Regions from separate parts of the Homo sapiens genome. Here all the other regions are linked to region 1. The links are contacts of gene promoters, found by promoter capture Hi-C in blood cells and fetal thymus (Javierre and others, 2016). All regions are on one chromosome and are shown on one strand. Each heading gives the region's core, a stretch centred on a gene start or on the middle of the fragment in contact. The rest is flanking DNA. Distances are from core to core; before and after follow the strand shown. Region 1 holds the start of NCAM2 (neural cell adhesion molecule 2). Region 2 has its middle 310 kb from the start of MIR6130. Region 3 has its middle 330 kb from the start of MIR6130. Region 4 has its middle 350 kb from the start of MIR6130.

Region 1 (5,719 bases), core at 987-3,486:
GGGGGGACTAGTTTCAATACTCTCACAGATCCTTGGATGCTCAAGTCCCTTATATAAAATAGCATAAATTTGCATATAACCTCCTGCATATTACATCATCTCTGGATTAGGTGTAATACATTATATAATGCAAATGCTTTGTAAATAGTCACTTTGCTGTATTTTTTTATTTACGTTATTTTGATTGTATCATTGTTTCATTTTTTTTAAAGTTATTTTTCATCCATGGTTGGTAGAATCTGAGGATGTAGAACTGTGGACGCAGAAGGCCTACTGTGTAGCATTTATCAATGCCCAAGAGAAATGAAGAATTGGAGTAAATAAATGAGTCACGGTCTTTCACATCTATAAATGTGCTACTTCCACCCTTTCCTGCAAAGAGCTGACCATGAGTTTACTTAAGTGTGGTTAGTGCATTCCAGAACCAGTAAAGGGTGTGAGAAGGGTACCGTGGCAAAATAACTTTCTAAATATATTGTCTGCTATAAGATCAAGAGGAAATAAGAGGTTCTCTAGCTGTGAGGTGCTGAGAGGGCCATTGCTTAAGGCAGTTCAGCGATGGTGAGTTGAGGGCCGCCTTTCCCCTCCTCTCTTCCTGATAACCCCATCCCAGGATGCCAAGTGGACGAATCATCTGTATAAAGCGCTCTGCCTGGGGAGGACAAATCGCAGACGGTATCTCCCCTATGCATGTTAGCCTGTGTCTACTCTTGCCCCCTGCCCTCCCTGAAGGCAATGCACTGCCCTTTTCAGCGTGAAATCCCCAGGCTGGGGCTGGATTCTGAGCTCTACATTTCTACCTCCCCCCTCTCCAACCCCCGCTATTTCTATGTCCTCACTGATAAGGAAGGAGCTAGGGTCCTTGTGGAGGCCGGGGCGAGGCAGTTGAGTTTTCTAAGGAGCCAGAGAGAAAGTGCAGATGAAAGGACCCATCGTCAGCGTTTGCAGGTCGCGGTAACCCCAGGCCAGATTGACATGGGCTCCGCACCCGGGCCGGTGATTCTGCCTCTTAACCGCTCTTGCAGGAGAGGTGACGTTAATCTCACAAACGTTTTCCTACCCTTCTAGGAGAAATAACGATAAGCCCCAATCTTAAGGAGCAGAGAGTTAGTTCCGGGCGTTTGCCACGGCTCCCTCACTTCAATTTACACTCGCACACGCGGGTACGTGGGTGTTCGGGGTAGGGCACTGATCTGGGGAAGGTCTCCCCCCCGCGACCCAACTCATCTTTGCACATTTGCAGTCCTCCCTCGGTGCACTCCTGGCGGGGATCTGGCCAGTGCAGCGCACTGGGACCGAGGGCAGAGCCCGCGGAGTGAGGCCAGGAGAGACTTCAGGCCTCTAAGGACACAGCTGAGGCTAAGGCTGAGTTGAACGCAGCCCCTCCCGCGGCTCGTCCCCTCTCCAGTGTCTCTCCCGTAAGGTGCCGCTCCCAACAGCAATGGGTCGAGATGTAGAGGAAACACTCTGTACGTTATTTTTCCGCCCACCCTTTAGCGCCTGAGGAGACAGACAGTGTAGACTTTAGGGTACAATTGCTTCCCCTCTGTCGCGGCGGGGTGGGGAGCGTGGGAAGGGGACAGCCGCGCAAGGGGCCAGCCTGCTCCAGGTTTGAGCGAGAGAGGGAGAAGGAGGTCCACGGAGAGACAAGAATCTCCCTCCTCCCACGCCCAAAAGGAATAAGCTGCGGGGCACACCGCCCGCCTCCAGATCCCCCATTCACGTTGAGCCGGGGCGCGCTCGGGGCGGTCGCCTGCAGTATCAGTATCAGCATCAGCATCAGCATCAGCATCTGCATGAGCATCAGCTCAGCTCAGCTCAGCTCAGCATCAGCTCAGCTGTCCTGAGGCAGCCGGCGGCTGTGAAGGAGCTCCAGGCTGCCCCCATCCCCACGCCCTTCTCGGCTCAGGGCGTGCATGAACCTGCGGATGGCCGGCGGGCGAGTGGCGCCTTCGCGATCGCGGCCGCCCCTCTAGGCGGAGGCACCGGGGACCGAACCCGTGACTTCGAGCTCCACTGCGGACGAATCCCGGGACCGCGCGCCTCGCGGAAGAGCGGCCGCCGTGCAGCGCGGAGGGATACGCCTCGGCCGCACCTCCCCTCGCCGCGCCCCCGCCCCCGCCGCCCTCCCCGCCCGGCTCTGCTGCCGCCGCGGCGGCCGCTGCTGCTGCTGCTTCTGCCGCCGCTGCCGCCGCCGCTGCCTGGATATAGTGCGGCAAGAGCGGAGCTTGCAGTCACTTTGCGAGGAGGAGCGCGCGGGCTGCGGGCGGCTGGGGCACCGCGGGAGCGGCGGCGGCGGCTCTAGCAGAGGCGGCCGGGGCAGCGAAAGGTTCTCTCTCCAGGGCTGGACTTAATAACTTTGAAACTGTCCACCGGTGTCACGTCCTGAACATGAGCCTCCTCCTCTCCTTCTACCTGCTGGGGTTGCTTGTCAGTAGCGGGCAAGGTAGGAGTGTGGCGCTTTATTGCATTTACTTTCCCTCCCCCTTCCACCCGGCCAAGAGAGGCAAAGAGGGAGGCGCAGGAAGAATGAAATGAAAGAACTAAAGTTACAGTTATTGCTGTTGTTGTTATTATTATTTTCGTTCTTTCTCCTAGCTGTCCCTAAAATTGTATCTGTTGTGTGGAGACCCTTAAATAAGAGAAGGGAAAATACAGAATTGGAGAGGGGAATCGGTGAGCAGGATATCCAGGGAAACCGCTTCTTCTTCTTCTTTTTTTTTCCTCTGGGATTATGGCTTTCTCTTATTTTTATTATCAGAAATTGGATGAGTGTGTTAACAGTGAAATATCTGAGGTTGCGGAAGGAAAGGGCACGATGGTGTTTTACAGAAGCAGCAAAAACTATCAGTGTTAAACTCATTTGCAAAATATCTGCTGTGTGCAAGACGTTCGATTCTTGGAGACTCTTTTTTTTTTCCACCCCTTTCCCAAAACCCTAATTCCTGACTATGAAGTGAATGATGATGGCTTATTTCTGTTGGAAACTAAGAGAGGGGCCGTGGATATTGTGTGTAAGAAAGCAAATGGATAAAACTAGGGATGTGTTGCAGTCATTCATTTTGACCCCAACCCCTTATTAATACAGAAAGGTGGAATCATTTTATAACATTACATTGTAATTACACCTGTAGAGGATTTTTGGGGTTGTGGGAGAACTGGTGGAAGCTTTTATCTCTTAAAAAAAAAAAATGAATAGCCTGGTAGAATAACCTGAGAGGGAATTTGTGGAAGCTATCACTGTTTGTCTCTAGAGAGATAGATATGAATTTATCTGGCTGTTTAGATAGTAAACACTCACATGAAATATATTTACAATAAATGGAAGCATTTTCAACTGTCCAGACAAGTTTGGACGTTTAATTAGGGACACAAAATGCTAAAACATGCATTGGTGAAAGTCTTTAAAGGAAAAATAAAATAGCACTAATTTTGAGATATGTAATGATTGCAAAGAATGTTATGTTGTTAGTGTAGTGTGAAATTGGTTTTTTAAAATAATATAATAAATTACAAGACAAGTTAAAATATCCCCAAGATATTCAGTTCTAAGCATTTTTAGCCTCTTCTGTATTGCTCGTTTGGTCCAGCAGGGGGTGGTAGAACTCCATTTTAAGCCCAGAAGTTGGTTTCTGCTCTTCCACAGAGTCCTTCTATCATTCTTCAGCAGGGCTTGACATTTTGGATGTGAAGCCTTCCTTTTTCTGCCCTTCTCCTCCCCACAGCTATAGTGTTAGTGGCGGATGAAACACGATTGGATGCAGATTTAATGTTCAGAAATCAGTATGCAAATGTTGGATATTCCTATAGTTTGTAAAGTGTCTTGATAAGATTCTGCTCATTTTCCCTTCCTAACATAGAGTATGAAATATTTCAGTCTTAGCAAAATTGCAGATATGTCCATCTGAAGCTAATACTAGCCCAATTCGTTAATTCAGTGGTTCTTAAGCAAAGATCAGCATGCACATATGTCCTACAGATATGCTTCTTTAATTTTCAGATAGCTGCTGATTGTGTTTAACTGTTCATTTATAGCATAGACAGGTATTTTTGAGCACCAAGAAACAATCCCTGAAAATTGCAGTTAAAATACAACTGCAATTAAATAAGTGTAGGTAGTGTGGGGCAGAATGGGAGCATAATAGGAAACAAGTTTATGCAGACTTAGGATTACATTGTGAGTGGTTTGGAGAAGAAAAATGTCTCAGTTGTGGAATCTGAATTTATCATTGTAGAGGCTAAGTGTGTTGGAATTTGGAGACATAGGAAATTAGAAATGTTTAGATATATAGGTTTAAATAGTACACAGAGACATAAAATTTGGATGTGTACATGTAACATAGATGTGAAATTGTGATTCAGCTAATTTGTAAGTCAGGATACGAGGTGGTTATGAAGAGGCACTCTGAGACAAGCATCTCTGAAGGGGAGCCCATATTCACTGTAATGAAACAGGGTAGAAGGAGACCATCATTGTAAAGATCTCTCTATCTAGTACAATTTCACAATGTGTGGCACTCATAGAGACACAGATATATATCAGAGAGACGTAGCTTTTGTGAAAGGGAACATATAGTACTTCTATGCCATGTGTCCTGATGAAGTCAGAGATGCTTGGATATAGATATCCTCATCCTGGAGTCCAATTCCTCTATGCTAGTGTTTTGTTCTCTAATTAAGGATGCAGCAGCAAGTATCAGACACACCACCGGGAGCTGTTTAAAAAAACAGACCTAGTGTAACTCATGATTTTGTTTATTCTCTTGTAAAGAGGGCCATGGAAAAGCCACCAGTCAGTGATCCCTGGTCTTGCCTTAGAAATACTAAAATCTCAGCTTGCTGATTTATGTGTCCAACAGTATACTTGCAGGGGATTTTATGAAGCATGATTGAAGCTATTGCTTTGGAAAGTGGTGTGCAGTTAGACTGAGGAAAGGCAACAATGATGTATTCCCTTTTTAGGAGTCAAAACGTTTTGAACTGAAGCAGTTGAATAGGAGAAAATGACATTAAGTGAGAAACTGACTAACTTAAGTGAATGCCAATACTATAATTAGCTAACAAGGCCTAATAGTTTACTTGTAACTCTCAATACAACCTTATTGTTGTACAGTAGTAAGACGCTTTTTTTTATTGTAGCAGAAATACTCCTTTAAAAGCCTCTAATTTCCACTGCAAGATTAATGTATAATGAAGTAAGGTTAGAATGTTATTGTGAAGTCTGAATTTAATTGTCAATGAAAGAAAATGCTGTAATTCTGTAACTTTTGCAATTATTTTTCCTTTGTGTTCAAAACTTGGTCACAGGCTTTGTAATCATAAATCTCAAGTGATAACTTCAGTTTCTGATTAACTGCATTTGCTGTTTGGATCTTTGTATATTCAAATTTCCAAACTGTTGTATGTATGGATTGCTTTCGTGAGAGTTTTTACATTTTTGAAACCACTTCCTTCTTCCTTTAAAAATTAAACAAGTATGATTAATAAGCATTTTTCCTGGATGTTCACATATGTAAGATAGAAGCACTGTTATACTAAAACCTAAAGTAAGAATAATGCTATTCATCTCTCTTGCAATGCAGTTCAAACGTACCACTTAGAACACTTACCTAAGCCAAAATCGTGAGGAAAGGAGGGGTGAATTGCCCAGTTGATCAGTTAAAGCAGTCATCTGCTTACAGTTATTCTCTTTGGTGAAGTGCTAGTAAGTCATTGTACA
Region 2 (5,719 bases), core at 2,205-4,704, 1.8 Mb after region 1:
GTCATCATTTATATTTAATCTTTTAAATCTATTTAACTTCCAAAGACAATAGCAATATCATGATTCCATAAAGCATAAGGGAATTATTGCTTACACAACAATGACAGACATACTAATCCTCTCTTCAAAACAGTAAAACATCCCACATAGTTCATCTTGGTAATGAACTATAAATGATGTTCATTGTTTTAGCTGGCATATAATTCTCTTTTAAAAATTAATATTTTGAAATTAAATATTGAGATATAGGATTAACTACTATTAGCATTATTTTATTTAACATGTTTTATTTTTGGCAGTTAAAAAGGGAGCCAATTCAAAGGCATCAGTTAATATTTACAAATAATATAAAACTGTTCAGATGTTCATGGTAGGTATGTATAAATTCTTTTTTTTTTACGACTGCACAATCCATATCTGCTTTTTTCTCAGCAAGCATGTCAAATAATTGTGATTTCTCACCTTTATTCCTGGAGAATTTGTGTTATTAACAATCATGCTTTTAATATATTCTTGAATTTTCTATTAATTTTACCACAAGCTTTAGAGTAGTAAGAAGTAACCTTGATTATATTCTGAGTTTTAAGTGTATTTCTCCCTGCCTACATTGTGTATTGACAACTCATTTTTTCTTGATAGTAATAATTCATTGTCTCAGTCGACTAGGGAAATGGACAAGGTAAGCCTAATGACTGCCCCAATTTATTGCTTAGAGAATGTTAATAGGCCATGGCACAGGACTGGGAAATCCAGGAAATCTACTCCAAGTGAGGAGACACAGCTAGAAGTTCAAAGAAGTCAAGATAGCTAGAGTTCATAAAAAAGAGTACAGGAGAAGGGAAAACTGCGATAAAATAAAATCCAGAGATCTCAAAAGATTCGTCCAGAATATTCAGTTAAGTAGAAATCAGTGCGTGTGTGTGAGGAAACTATCAAAATCCAGAGAAAACCACCTGAAAAGTTTAGAGAGAACAATGCTTGAGACTTACGCAGGGCCGGAAACATGCCTGTTTTCCACAGCCAGAGACACACTCTTTCATATTTGAGAATTTGTCTCTCTTTTTTTTCTTTTCTTTCTCTCTCCCTCTCTCTCATTCTCTCCTTTCTCTCTCTCTTCTCTCTTCTTTCTCTCTCTCTCTCTCTCTCTCTCTCCTTCTCTCTTCCCTTCTTTTTTGACAGACTTTTGCTATTATTGCCCAGGCTGGAGTGCAATGGCATGATCTCAGCTCACTTCAACCCCTGCCTCCCGGATTTCTCCTGCTTCAGTCTCCTGAGTAGCTGGGATTACAGGCGCCTGCCACTATGCCTGGCTAATTTTTTGTATTTTTAGTAGAGACGGGGGTTTCACCATGTTGGCCAGGCTTGTCTCGAACTCCTGACCTCAGGTGATCCACCTTCTGCCTACATTTAGTAATTAATCTTATTGTAAATTTCTAATGAATTGTAAATTATTTCAGCAAAATTCTACTTCTCTTTTCATCCTTTTGTGTAAACCTGTTAATAATGAACTCATCACTCATATCCAGTTTAAAGATTAACATGGATTGATAGTAAATACTTGTGAATTTTTTCAAGTAAAAAAAAAGTATGCTATAAGATGTACTTTCATTTTTGATGTTTTTCTTCTATTAGAAATAAATAATTTTATTTCTATAGAAGTTATTATACTGGATAATATTTTATCTTCCATATTACTTATTATTTTTCTAATTTCCTAGTCTATTTTCTAATTTTTATTCCACATTAATTATAATAATATAAAAGTTCCCCTTCATATATTGATTAGATTTTCTTTTTGGTGTGTGTGTGACAGAGTCTCACTCTGTCGCCGAGGCTGGACTGCAGTGTCGTGATCTTGGCTCACTGAAACCTCTGCCCCTCGGGTTTCAAGCGATTCTCCTGCCGCAGCCTCCCAAGTAGCTGGGATTACAGGCATCCACCACCATGCCCAGATAATTTTTGTATTTTTAGTAGAGACAGAGTTTCCCCATGTTGGCCAAGCTGGTCTCAAATTCCTGGCCTCAAGTGATCCACCTGCCTCAGCCTCCAAAGTGCAGGGATTACAGATGTGAGCCACCACGCCTGGCCTGATTAGATTTTTATCAGTGACTTCTGTGTGCCTCATGGTTTCTAATTGCGCTTCAGTCTCTATTTTCAACTCATTTACCTGCTTAGTCATCACATCTTTGAGGTCTTGAGCTCACGTTAGCTAAAGGTTCTAATTTTATCATATGAGACACTTCAGGGAATTTTTTGGTCACTTATTTTTGAAAGTATTACATTTTTAATCCTTCTTTTTCAAATTTACTTACCCTTCTGTCATGAGATTTTATATTTGCCATATTATTTATTTCTAGTCGATTCATGTTTAATCCAGGATTTTTATTACAACATGCCCAGATATACTGTTTGCTTTAATATAGTGAACCTGTGTTAACATTTCCCATGTAGAACTTCTCCGTTTTTCCACCTTCAGAAGGACACACTTTGGAGAATAGTGTTGCTTTTTTTTTTTTTTTTTTGAGACGGAGTCTCGCTCTGTCGCCCAGGTCGGACTGCGGACTGCAGTGGCGCAATCTCGGCTCACTGCAAGCTCCGCTTCCCGGGTTCACGCCATTCTCCTGCCTCAGCCTCCCGAGTAGCTGGGACTACAGGCGCCCGCCACCGCGCCCGGCTAATTTTTTTTTGTATTTTTAGTAGAGACGGGGTTTCACCTTGTTAGCCAGGATGGTCTCGATCTCCTGACCTCATGATCCACCCGCCTCGGCCTCCCAAAGTGCTGGGATTACAGGCGTGAGCCACTGCGCCCGGCCTAGTGTTGCTTTTTAATTCCCCTTTTGCTTGGAGGTGAAAATGAGCTTGGGAAGAACTCACTGGGAGTATTACATATCATATTTGCAAATAGGGCTCTATTTTTTCTCTTAAACATTATATTAAATTTCGTATCGCAGAGCAATCAACAGGAAACTCACCTGATTTCCATGGCCTTTTATTTGCTTTCATACTCAAAATAGTGTCCTCTAAGAGAAAAAGTGCTGATTTCTTTTTCTGCTTTTGTAGGCTTTAAAGCTAGTGTGTAGAACAAAAGAAAAAACTGGAGGCTCAAAACCAAAATTTATAAATAAATATGTAATATTTCTAACATTTGGTAATATGGAATGGGATAAAATATTTATAACCAAATTATGTAGTACAATTGGAATCACTTGCCTCTAGGAAAGCCTTAGTCAAAACAGACAACCATATAAGATGGTTTAGGCATGAAAGTAGAAAGGAATGAATGATATAGTTTTCATTAACAGAAACCCATGTAAATATAATTAAGCACTTATTTAGACATGAGTGCCAATGCATTTGTGTCTTCCCTTTGGGTTTTAATTGGGTGCTGATGCTGTGAACCATATGTACATATTTATAAATAGCAAACATTAACTTGCATACTTTGCAGAAAGTATCACCATAATGCTAAGTATAATTTTTATTAGTTCAGGCTCATTATCTTAACAATTTTAAAGAGAACAATATTCTCCATAAGATGCTACACGCCTACATTCTGTTAAAATCAAAATATTAAAGAATTAACATATTGGCTGAGCAGTACTACTCCAGAAATGTATTGAGAATCGTATCCTTAGAAATTCAATATATAGTGGAAGATGTAGTAGTCAAATGAAAAACATCTTTTTTTAATTCTCTAAATTCACTAATCAATTTAGTGTATGAGAGAAATAAATTTACATATTTCATGTTATCAAGAACATTTTGTAAAAACATGTTCATCACTAAAGGCCAGCGTCCCCTCTTTTTGAAGCCATCTGCAACTTTTTAATGTGTACAATCAGTATTAATTTAAAACTTATTTATTAATATACACACACGTGCACACACATATATGCTGCATATAAAACACTGCTTTTTGGAAGGGAAAATAAAACATAAAATCAGTTACTAATTTTTATGAATTTATCATCTAATTGAGGGGAGCAAGATAAGCATATAAAGTGTTGATGTTCATAAAAGCTAATTTGTGGTATAAAAGAGCAGCAAAAGAAATAGTATGTCTAAGAAAAAATTATAATCAAGTCTGTATGTCATAATAAAGTGGGCAATGTTTGAACTGAACATCAACATATGAAGAGAATGTTGTTACAGAGGTTAAGTGGTAAGAGAATAAGCAGCTCCAGGTAGCCGGGCACTGATCTGACTCTCACTGCTAGACTGTGGTGTCCTCAGGAGCTATCTGGCATGCACAGTCATCCTTCGATGACCTCCAGTTGAAAGTAAACAATTTCACAGAAAACCAGTATTAGACAAGGTCACATTGTGTACTACAAAGGAGACAAAAAGCTAAGCCTAGAGAAAAAAAAAAAAAAGAAGGTCACTCATCATACCCCCAAATTATCAAACATTTCCATTTCTCAGCTTACTGCTGCTTTCTTCCAATGAAAACTTCAACCTCATTTCAAGTTTTCATCTTTCTAGATCTGATGGATAGGATACACAATCTTGGCCTTACTCCTTCCTGAAAGGAAAAAAAATCTTGCTTTCAGGAACCATCCTCCAAATCACTAAACACAACCCCAAATTCCATAAGTATTTCCTAAAATTTTAGTGAGATGTCTCATAATTCTGGTTTATGATTTTCCTTGCAATGAACTACCATGCCCAACTTTGTTTAAATACAAGTGTGCTTCTAGTGGTCTTTTGGCTGGAGAACACTGGCAGTGTCTGGATAATATTATTACAGCGGGTGGGATGCTTCTGGCTTCATAAAGAGCTTAGTGTTGCCAGTTGCATTACTAAGGATGCTAAAAACAAAGGGTTGGCACAGTCAAGGATTAAAAAGAGTAAATAAAAGGATCATTTACAAATGTGTGGGAAGAGTTAAGAGAAGAGAGAAGATTCTGAGGCATCCAGGAATAGTAACATCAGAAAGCATTCATCACCTCCAGTCTTGAAAAGCAGAGGAAGCTATATTTTTGTCGTGTAGTGCTGGATATAAGAACTGCCTATCAGAAGCTGAGGTCTTCAGCAGATAAATACAGCTATTGGTAAGCAATTGAGACTTTAAAGTATTAACTAACTGGGGCACATAAAAGTTTGGACAAGGGTAAAGATTGTGGAGATTGGATCTGGAGGATAAATGGAGAATATTAAGAATTAAACAAAAGGGGTTGATTTTTATCTATGTATAATTGTGAGCATGCATTCAGGATAAAGTTCAGCATCAGAACCACTATTTTGAAAATAGTGAAAGAGAAATGTATTCCTTAGAAACAGAATTTTTTTCATACTTATCTTGTCATAAAGTATCTATCCATAGTACATTTAGGAAAGATGGGGTTGGAAAGCAAAGTGAAGGCCAAATTGTAGAAACTCTCAGTAGTTAAACTACAGAGATTAGGTATCATTCCCCAAAAAGGATTTGGAGATTTCAGCTGGGTGTGGTGACTTATGCCTGTAATCCCAGCACTTTGGGAGTCTCAGGTGGGTGGATCCTCTGAGGTCAGGAGTTCCAGACCAGCCTGGCCAACATGGTGAAACCCTGTGTCTACAAAAAATACAAAAACTAGCTAGGCATAGTGGCAGGTGCCTATAACCCCAGCTACTTGGGAGGTTGAGGCAGGAGAATTGCTTGAAGCGGGAGGCAGAAATTGCCAAGATTACGCCACTGCACTCCACCCTGAGCAACAGAGTGAGACTTTGTCTCAAAAATATA
Region 3 (5,719 bases), core at 1,413-3,912, 1.8 Mb after region 1:
TCGTATATATAGAAGTAATGACTGGTTTTAAAATTTATATTACTAAATATAATAATGTAGTGTTGAAATATCAGTATATGTAATATACAATGGAATTTCAAAACCTGAGACATATTTCAGTCCTCATATTTTCTTGTCAATTTATAGGACACCTTTTCAGCTATATAATTATTAATATAAGATCCATCTAATTATAACATAATAACTTCTTTGCTATAGCTTATACATATATATCAAAGCATATTTATAAGGTAAACAAACTAAAACAAGCATATAAATATGTAATAATATTTTATAAAACACTTCAAAGAGAGGTAAAGAACATCACACACCGGGGCTTGTTGTGGGGTGGGGAGGTGGGGAGGGATAGCATGAGGAGATATACCTAATGTTAAATGACGAGTTAATGGATGCAGCACACCAACATGGCACATGTATACATATGTAACAAACCTGCACGTTGTGCACATGTACCCTAAAACTTAAAGTATAATTAAAAAAACACATAAGATTAATGTGGTGATAAAATATTACACTGATGATAAAGGACTTTTTTGAGAGATCAATAATTGTCCAATGAGAATCAAGAATTGAAGTATGTCATCAATGTTTTTTTCTAAAAATATACTTTCTGAAAACTTATTTGCCATACATTACGTTAACTGCTAAGCAGCAACTAAAAAATATATTATCTGCTCCTCAAGAGCATAAAAACAAGGAACTAAGTATTTGCAGGCATACACAAGCATTTTGAAAGGGCCATACTACATACCAAAAGCATCATAAATGCATTTTGTTGAAGAATTATGAAAGTAATGCTATTGTGATTGAAAACATAATCTAATGTTTAAACCACAATTTGATTTAGCAAAAAATAAATAAATAAAATAAAGTAATGGGAGATTCATTATCTAGAAACATGTACAGTATTTTTTCAATAATTTAAGCATATTTTTCATTTTGTTGAAAGGTAATTTACATAGCATCAATGTATTAAATCAATTTGAAGAAATATTAAACAGAACATTTTATTTTTCTATCATACTAAATTAGAAAATTAGATTTGTAGCTTATATTTCTAATATTCTTAATTAAATATACCTGGTTTAGATATTAAACATACTGGATTAGAAAAAAGTGTGCAATAAAATACTGCCAAAATTTTACTACAATGATTAAAATAGTTCAATGATCTACACATTCCAAATTTTTTTTCAATTTAACTGAGAGAATTGTCTCTTATCCTCTCTGAAGAGGTTTTATTGTAAATTCCACATTTTTGCTTCTGAAGAAAAAATAATTTCTTCACTGAATAAATGTTTTAGGTTCTGATTTTGAATAAGATGAAGTAACTCACAGCAGATCAAGAACAACTGAAAAATGCAGATGAAAATTCAAGAATAGTCTCTCTTTAAAAATAAGATAGCTACATTTTCTTAATCCAGTCTATCATTGTTGGACATTTGGGTTGGTTCCAAGTCTTTGCTATTGTGAATAGTGCCGCAATAAACATACGTGTGCATGTGTCTTTATAGCAGCATGATTTATACTCATTTGGGTATATACCCAGTAATGGGATGGCTGTGGCACATATACACCATGGAATACTATGCAGCCATAAAAAATGATGAGTTCATATCCTTTGTAGGGACATGGATGAAATTGGAAACCATCATTCTCAGTAAACTATCGCAAGAACAAAAAACCAAACACCGCATATTCTCACTCATAGATGGGAATTGAACAATGAGATCACATGGACACAGGAAGGGGAATATCACACTCTGGGGACTGTGGTGGGGTCGGGGGAGGGGGGAGGGATAGCATTGGGAGATATACCTAATGCTAGATGACACATTAGTAGGTGCAGCGCACCAGCATGGCACATGTATACATATGTAACTAACCTGCACAATGTGCACATGTACCCTAAAACTTAGAGTATAATAAAAAAAAAAAAAAAAAAAAATAAGATAGCTGCCTAGGTAACCAGAGACTGAGGGGCCAAGTTGCTGATGAGTAGGAAGCTTCGGAGTAAAGAATTGATTTTATTGGGCTCATTTTCTCTTGAATCTTCTCCAAACTTGGTGGAAAAACCACTGAACATCCACCCAAAGATTGCACACAGGAGGGAGCTGCTTTTACAATATTAAAGAGCTAGAAAGACAAATTGAAGATCAGACCTGTAAAGCAACGAGGACTTGAGTAGGCAAGATATTGGAAGAAACAATGAACTGAAAACTTACAAGTGATTGGGACATTGCAGAGCAATGGGAAGGTTAACTTCTTTAATGCCAATGCAAATGGGAACTGAAATTGTTAAAATTCAGTATCTGGAACAAATAATTTTAAATAATAAAAATTAACCATTATAGCATATAAATTAAATCAATGTATAAGCATCAAAATTGCTTTGTTTAAATATTTCTGCAATTATGCCTGAGGTTTAAAATCCTGTATATAAAATAAACAACCAAGAAACATTCATAATTCAGTTTTAAAGACACAATGTGTTTGTATATTTTAATATTATAACAGCATGTTTTTGGACTGTCCTGACTTTTTCTGCTTGAAATTATTTTAAAAACTTTTAAAGAGTATCGTAACTTGCTATTTGATATAGTTTGGCTGTATCCCCACCCAAACATCATCTTTAATTTCAGTTACAATAGTGTCCACGTGTTGTGGGAGGGACCCAGTGAAAGGGAATTAAATCACGGGGGCAGTTACCCTCATGCTGTTCTTGTGATACTGAATGACTTCTCAAGTGAATTGATGGTTTTGTAAGGAGCTTTTCCCCCTTTTCTCAGTACTCATTTTTTCTCCTGCCACCCTGTAAAGAGGTGCCTTCCACCATGATTGTAAGTTTCCTGAGGCCTCCCCAGCAATGTGGCACTGAGAGTCAATTAAACCTCTCTTCTTTATAAATTACCCAGTCTTAGGTATTTCTTCAAAGCAGCATGAGAATGCACTAATACACTATTTGCATATATAATAATAATTTTTGTCTTATCATTATTTATTATTTAATAAATAAATAAATATATATGGGCATTCAGACATTTCTGAGCCTTCACTTTGAAGCTCCTGACTGAGATCTTGGATGAGGAAAGAAATATCTGAAATATACAACCACATTAAATGAAAAAACACTTGCTGAGGCTCCTTCTATATGGGGTAATCTTGTAATTTATCAAACAAAACAGGATGAGAGTAAAAGAATGGCTATTTATTACTGTGCCAAGAAATCAGGAAATCAAGCATATACTGGACTGTCACAGAAAACATGGATGTATAATAAGCTTTCACATAATCCTCTGTGACAATAGAACATTAAGTTCACAATATATTGGTCCATAAAGATTGATTAAAGCTGATTCTAAGAGAAAATGAAAAAGCTGATTCTAAAAGAAAATGAAAAAGCTGATGGGGAAACTAAGAGATTCATCTTGAAACTGCAGAAAGCACAATTACAAATCTGTAGAAGAAGTGTTTTTATATATGTTGCCTCTGTGGAGACATTTTTATCGGTAAAGTCCTCTTTGTAAATGGAGCGATTAATACTATGTGCTTTAAAGAATTAGACTCAAATAATATCTTTCAATGAATGTTATCAAATTTTCTCTCTGTTACTTAGTTCATTTTTATGTAAATCTTAATATAAATCAGTAACACATCATATAGTGTTAATGGGTCATACATAAAAATTTTATCTCTCCTCATTTTATAAGTGACATACAAAATTGTATGTTTTCTTCAGTAAGTACCCAGATTACAATTTTGCTCAAAATATAAAAATTGTGAATATTAAATAGACAATATAGTTAGTATTACAAAATATTTATAAAATAACTTTGGGAAATTTGTCAAAATTAGACCTAAAATTCTAAAAGTCCTTTTAAAGAAATCATGAACAATTAAAATACTTGGACACCTTTCACATTTGAGAGACCTGCACCACAATAAGTCAAGCAAATTTCTAAGTCTCTGCCTGCCTTAAATTCTTCCCCGCTGAGCTGAGGATACCAGAGGTTGACAACTGTAGCCTCATCCTGCAGCATCTGTGCTAAGTCAGTGGAAGCTCTGCTTGGCAAGACTGAAACACCACCATCTGTAGGAAGGCTGTTACTCTCACTCTGGAATGTCTAGTGGAATTGTAGAATTACATGCTATGATGATATAAAACTTCCTCTCATGTGTGGGTTGGCAATGTGAAGAAATTTCAAGGACAATCCCCAAAATCAATTCAATTAAATTGAATGAAATATTTGATCTCTTACAAATTTCTCAACTTTGTCGTGACTGGAAAGTACATCACAAAGAACATCAAAAACTTCATTGTGCTTAAAAATAATCATTATTTATTCATGTGAAAATCATAATTATAATTGTGTGAAAATGAAGAAATTTTTTACCTGTTCTTCCATTTTATGCAAACATACATTATCCTACAGTTTGTGATACACATTAATTTTAATGTAGTAATATCCTAGACCTGTTAAATGAATCCTAATTACTCCACATTCTCATGAAATTTACAGGTCATTTAAATAAACATCCTCAATTCTATAATAAAGATTGAGAATTAGGGAGGAACTGATGAATTTCATAATCAATTTAAAACTATTCCCTCTCTGATTTATACTCATGAATGTGTTGTTAAATTTTCAATGATTAGTCCTCTTGAGGATGAGGGAAAAGCCCTCATTTTGGGGATTTGTTGATTCCTGTGGGGCAATACTTCTGTCATAACTTAATATAAACTATGTAAAAGTTAAATCATTTCCTCCTTTATTAGTCTGTTCTCACACTGCTAGTAAAGACAAACCCGACACTGGGTAATTTATGAAGGAAAGAGATTTAATTGCCTTACAATTCATCATAGCTGGGGAGGCGTCAGGAACCTTACAATCAAGGCAGAAGGGGAAGCAAGCACATCCTTCTTCACAGTGGCAGGAAGGAGAAGTGCCAAGAAAAGGGAGCAAAGCCCCTTATAAAACCATTAGATTTCTTGAGAACTAACTCACTATCATGATATTTTACTTACTATCATGAGAACAGCATGAGGGTAATAATTCAATTGCCTCCCACTAGGTCCCTTCTATGGCACATGAGGATTACAGGAGTTACAATTTAAGATGAGATTTGGGTGGCTTCCTTTTTCTATTATCATGCCCCCCAATAGTTCCTAATTGTCAATATATTTTTTCTCTATATTTTTATTTTTATACAATATTGGATGTTCCTTCAAGGAAATAACCATATGCTTGACATTTTTTGCATTTTTTCCAACATCTTCATTAGTATACAGTGTGAGTTATAACATCACATTTCTGACGGTGATAATTACCAAATGAGAATAAGGGTCTCCTTGTTCTATATTGAAAATCTACAGACTGTACTTTTAGCAAATGTCTTGTCTTGGAAGACTTCGTGGAAATTGTCCAAATGCTCACTACTTACAATAATCTTTTCTAGCCCAACTCTAGGATTAGGCATAAATGCACTGATTATTCCAGGAGAAAAGCAGATGCTTCCCTAACCACAGATATTGAACTGGTAAAAGAAAGTGGTGCGTAGCTTCTACCATATCATATTGCTGTTATATGTTAGACACTAAACCCACCATTAAGGAGACCAGTGCTTTGTTAATCTTTCAGCTCAAATGTCCCACAGCCTAATGATTTTTGTCTTGCTCCTTGATTCAACCTGATTCAGA
Region 4 (5,719 bases), core at 1,991-4,490, 1.7 Mb after region 1:
ATGAAGTAAGACCAAGGCAAGTTTCAGCACAGGAGTGAAAGTTTATTAAAAAGACTTTAGAACAGGAAAAAAGGAAGATTCACTTGGAAGGGACCCAAGTGGGCACCTGAAGGTCAAGGGCATTTAACCTTGATCCTAGGACTTTATAGACTCACCTCTTTCCCATGATTATTTCCTTAGAGTGGGCTTCCTGCATGCATAGAGTCTCTTCCTGCCCTTGGGTAGTGAGCACGTGCAGTGTGTTGAGGAAGATGTATGCATGGCCATCTGAGGCTTTCTTCCCTTTTCTGGTGGAGTATCCCCAGAAGGTCATACTTTGCCATTTTGTCTCTTAGTGCACATGCCCAGGAAGCTGCTTCCCCGTGGCATCTGCGTTCAATTAACACATTAATGTTAACATCTGTGGATCATCAGGAGATTGTCTCTCCCTGGCACCCAGGCCCCAGTGCCCGCTGCTGAATTACCGGTGTTAGGCAGGCAGTGTGATAATTGTTGAACCATCACCTGACATTTCTAGTGGGTGGGAAATAAGAGCCCTCTGCTGCCATGCCCATGCCTATCTAACTGCCTGTAATAAACACTTTGCTGGGCTCCTAGTCACCTAGGAACAGCCTAAAAGGGCCCAGGGGAGCAGAGCAATGTCTCTCGGGAGTCTAAGGACCCTCATCTAGATAATTTTTTAATTAGGCCGCTACTATGAACACCAAGGTTTTAACCATTGTTAAGTCAAATATAGTTACACACACTAAAGACACAAACACAGACAAGCAGAAGTCAAAATTAAACCAACCTGAGTACCTCAGTGATTACAGCATTTTATTATCACTCTTATTCTTTGGGAATCTAACCTCAAACAGATTCAGGATGCTAATCAGACCAGGATCCCAATAGGGTGGGACTAGAACCCAAAATTCCTATGATGAAACCTTTGACAATTTATGATATAGGCACATATTAGTGAAGTACTCATCCCCAAGACATCTAAGCCAGAAGCACTTTCTTTTTCCCAAATAAGAAAGTAGTACTGCTGAGCCTGAACTGTCGCAGCAGAGAATCAGTGATGTCTCAGTCAATCCCCTAGATAAAACTGTTCTAGGTGGCCATTCTGTCAGTGAAGGGGGCCTACAACACTTCAAGAGGCTACATTGCCACAGGCAGATTTTTGTACCATTTGGGTTGCAAAAAATGTTACCAAGAATGGGCTTGCTGCCTAATACTTGGAAGCCCATACTATGGTGTTGGCTTTTAAGAAAAGAAAAAAGCTTTATTGTGGAGTCAACTGGCAACAAGACAGGAGGCAATGCTCATATCACTATCCTTCAGCTGGGATCTAGGGGCAAATTTATAGATAGTAACAATGGAAGAGATAGAAAAATGCAATGAGGCATGATCTATTAGAATATGCAAAGAGGCATATTCTAATATGCCTTGGCTCCTAAGTACCTCCTGCAACAAAACAGGGTACACCTTGGTTTTTAACTTTGGTCCCCTTTCCTCAATCCAAGATCTTAGGTTCCACCTGTGCTTAACTTTTTTGTTCTAGCTGCCCCTGGGGTCAAAATTGGGCATGTTTGGTTCATCTGGGCATGCTCAGGTAACTTGATCTGCAACCTGGGGATCCATTGCACTGAATAAAACTCATCATTCTGGCTAGGTGCGGTGGCTCACGCCTGTAATCCTAGCACTTTGGGAGGCCCAGGTGGGAGGATTGCCTGAGCTCAGGAGATCAAGACCAGCCTAGGCAACACAGTGAAACCCTGTCTCTACTAAAATACAAACAATTAGCTGGGTGTGGCAGTGTACACCTGTAGTACCGGCTACTCAGGAGGCTGAGGCAGGAGAATACCTTGAATCTGGGATGCGGAGATTGCAGTGAGCTGAGATCGCACCACCGCACTCTAGCCTGGGCGACAGAGCGAGACTCCGTCTCCAAACAAACAAACAAACAAACAAAAACCACTCATCATTCTGTTACTTTCGTTATTGACAAAGTTGAACTAAATTGAGTTGATTCTGGCATTAAAACAATATAGTGTAATATTTAAGAGAAGTTCAGATCATATCTTGGTTGAGCCATCAGAATAATTATAGAGATAAAAAATGTGCTCTAAGGAAGACAGAGAAATGCTAACAGAGTGTTTACAGCAAGGGAATCATTTTCCATCACTTGTGTTTTGCTAAGATTCCAAAGCAGGCAGGGTGTGGGAACATTTTACAGTGAGGAAAAGGGAAGGTTTTAGGTGTGCTCTGATTGGAATTTTTAGCGGTTGTGGAAAAAAAGACCACAAAAATAAGAACAAAGTCTGTCTATATATTCAGAGGTTGCTATAACAAGGGAGTTAGTCACCATCACTTCCCTTTATCAGAGAGTCAACATCAGGCAAGAGAGTAGAAAAACTTTATAGTGAAAAGAAAGGGAAGGCTTCAGGAATTATCTCATGAGAGAACGCAGGCACAGAGAAACAACGTGGGCTAAGCAGAAGTGGTCATTTTATGTGTTTGGTTTGGGGAGCATATTTGACTTTCTCTTCTTGGTCTAGGGATGAAAGTGGGAGGAAAACAAACAAATGAAAAACAGAGATGGCAGTCATTAAAACATTAAAATCATAGCAGCTGTCTCTCTAGGCCAACAGCTGCACAGGTTGTGATTTGGTTTCCTGAACTTGTTGCTGCAGAGGTTGGGAAATAGAATTTAATTGTCAGTACTTTAGGAGGCTGAGGTGGGCGGATCACTTGAGGTCAGGAGTTCAAGACCAGCCTGGCCAACATGGTGAAACCCCATCTCTACCAAAATTTAAAAAAAAAAAATTCAGCCAAGTGTCATAGCGCATGCTGGTAGTACCAGCTACTCAGGAGGCCGAGGCTGTCTCTACCAGAAACATAAAAAAAAATTAGCCAGGTGTGGTGGTACATGCCTGTAGTCCCAGCTACTCAAGAGGCTGAGGCAGGAGAGTTGCTTGAACCCAGGAGGCAGAGGTTGCAGTGAACTGGGATCATGCCACTGAACTTCAGCCCGGGTGACAGAGTGACTCCATCTCAAAAAAAAAATAAAAGAATTTCATTGTGATATACCATCTTACTATTTATTTATATTCAGCCTCTCACTTGTGCTGCATTACACTGCCTAAATCCTCCCTCCAAAACTGCAGAAACTAACCCCTGAGCTTCTGGGATTGTCCTCTATCAGACCTAAATTCATGTCTCATTTCTGAAAAGCAGCTTTCATCCAATTACTGGTGGATATGTAGTTTTAAAAGCCCAAATGAATCTCTCTGACAAACAAAATATATGAAGGGATATCCCAGCTCCTGAGTACTCCTATGGTTTTACAAAGGTCTTGCTATAATTAAAATGTAGCACTACTTTTCTTCTGCCCAGTTATACTTCTGTTATTTTCTCTCACAAATATTGATCATAAGGTCATTCCCTAGTAAATTTCCTTCAAACTTATGTTTCCAGGGAACCTGATCTGCAACATTAAATAATAATATTTGTATGTATGAAGGCTGTACATCTGAGCTAGAGATATGATGGTCTCTGTGGCCATGCCTGCAAAAACTAACATTTACTATTACAAAGGTTATTTTAAAATATGGTTCATAATTTTAATTATATTTAAATCATATGATATATCTAGGTAGACAGATACATAGAGATAGATAGATAGATAGATAGATAGACAGATAGATAGATAGACAGATACTTTTTAATCTAGACCAAATAACTGTAGTTTAGAAGATACTGAATTCTGTTAAGCAGGTGTTGATGAATCTTCCTTATGAGGTTCTAAACTTCTAGGACAATGTGATCAGTTATCCTGTGCTTCTTCTCCCCTATTTATGTTTTTTTTTCAAGCTGTGATACCCAAACTTTGTTAATTTCTCAGTTTCTATCTCATGTTATACCTTTCAATTGTGATGCATTGATATCTGCTTTTATTTTTCTTTTAATGAAGTTGTGCTACAACTTCAATATGCCATCTTTCCTGTTCTAGTAATTCATATTTATTTTTATTCTAACCAATAGATTCTATGCACTAAAGGCAGTAAGCATTCAATGTTTATTAAAATAAGTGTCTATATATGTGTAAAATCTGTTTGCAGAAATTTTCCTGAAATGTTCATAGAATTGATGCTTACATTTATACAACTTTGAATCAACAGAAATGGGACACCATGCCCAAGGAAATAAAAAATATCTTAAAGTTGTAGAGCTCATTGGAAGCAAGATTAAAAGTGATATTAGAATATATAAATAACTACAATAGAATACCTAATCAACTCATTTTTTCTCACATATGAATTATTTGCTTATTATGAAATATACTTCCTGATAATAGAAAAGGCTTAAGATAAAATAATGGCTTTTATTTTTTGTATTTAAACTGAGCTTGTTTCCTACCATTTATGGGCATAAGATACCATTTGTCAAATACTTCACGAACAGAACTTCATTTACATAAACTACTTTGAGCATCAGGCACATATCATTTTATACTTTTGCAAATGCAGTAACCAAGAAGCAGAGATTCACCTAGCTGTCATGAAATCACCTAGGGATTAAAACAAGAGCTCTCTATTGGCAAAGCCTATGCTCTTTATCATTTCTACTACATTGCTTCTCAACGTATTATTGGAAAGTTTTACATATTGGCCACATTTTTGTCCTACTATTCTTTTACTACTCAAATAAAAATCTAGAAATGAATGACATTTATAAGGATGCATTATTTTTTACTGTACTGAGGAGTGTGTCTCTAAGATTCTCACAGCCACTTTTCACGCATTTCACTGATGCCAGGCAATGAATTTCACTTGAGTTCTTTTGAATTGGTTTCAAAATGTAGTAGCTTTTAATTAATCTCTTCTTTACTAGTTTTTCTTTACTTTAAAATCCACATTAACTTTAAATAACGTGTCCCGGGCCATCAACTTTTATGCTTTTGTTTTAAGAATTTGAATAAATTTAATTACTGAGTGATTTCCTAAGGGTTTACAACTTTGATGGATACATTTTCCTTAATTTTTTTATCACAAGTCATAAAATCATATTGAAGACCGTAATTTTTAAGATATTAACCATATTGTTATGCTAGCACCCATGCGATGTGTAAAAACATGACACTCTTCCCAGCAAGTAGAAACAGTATAAACATAAAAGTATTAACATAGTTAGCATTCACAGTAACAAACACAGTTTCATTCATTTTGTTCATGTATAAGCTTACTTATATGCATATGTTCTGCTAAACTTGCAGTTTATCAGAAATAATGAAAGCTTCATTATTTTACAAACATATAAATATTTTAATTATTTTACTTAAATACATAAAGAAAAATGAAAATAAAATTTTAAAAGGGAGAGGAAAAAAGAGATACAAATAAACAGTAGATGTTGGTCCTATTCACAACAGTAATTCATGATAATTTGCAAAGCCACAAATCTGAACCGAACTTACATTCAAAACTTACATTTCAAAAGCCGTTGTTTAAAGAACAGCTTTTTAATTTGCACACACTTATGAAAGCCTACCCACAGAAAACTTACACTTTTGAAATAGAAATCAAATATAGGTGAAAGAAAACTTTCTGAGTATTCTGAGCACCTAGAAACAGAGCCAATATCATGAATGATATAACTTATAAAATAGTACATTGAGATATCCATTTCTCTGACCACAATCCTCTACAATTTAATTATTTAATTTTTATTCTCTCAC

What was found. The method cuts DNA at HindIII sites, captures the fragments that hold promoters and counts their contacts. A CHiCAGO score of 5 or more calls a contact.
Region 2: a contact is called between a fragment that was not itself captured here and the fragment with the promoter of NCAM2 in region 1, in 9 of 17 cell types (M2 macrophages, M1 macrophages, monocytes and 6 more). The highest score is 16.1, in M2 macrophages.
Region 3: a fragment that was not itself captured here is called in contact with the fragment with the promoter of NCAM2 in region 1 in 1 of 17 cell types (M2 macrophages); the score reaches 5.6 in M2 macrophages.
Region 4: a contact is called between a fragment that was not itself captured here and the fragment with the promoter of NCAM2 in region 1, in 2 of 17 cell types (monocytes and M2 macrophages). The highest score is 5.6, in monocytes.

Annotation. Positions count from the first base shown.
Region 1 is chr21:20,996,173-21,001,891 of GRCh38, forward strand. NCAM2 (neural cell adhesion molecule 2) reads left to right here and starts at 2,237. Exons shown (of 18, transcript NM_004540.5): 1 at 2,237-2,446. The coding sequence starts at 2,392. The HindIII fragment of the contact is 4,236 bases long and covers 1-3,166 here.
Region 2 is chr21:22,769,042-22,774,760 of GRCh38, forward strand. No RefSeq gene overlaps it. Among named protein-coding and RNA genes, the nearest start is that of MIR6130, 310 kb to the right of the region's middle. The HindIII fragment of the contact is 5,831 bases long and covers 540-5,719 here.
Region 3 is chr21:22,750,869-22,756,587 of GRCh38, forward strand. No RefSeq gene overlaps it. Among named protein-coding and RNA genes, the nearest start is that of MIR6130, 330 kb to the right of the region's middle. The HindIII fragment of the contact is 1,275 bases long and covers 2,026-3,300 here.
Region 4 is chr21:22,729,768-22,735,486 of GRCh38, forward strand. No RefSeq gene overlaps it. Among named protein-coding and RNA genes, the nearest start is that of MIR6130, 350 kb to the right of the region's middle. The HindIII fragment of the contact is 3,960 bases long and covers 1,261-5,220 here.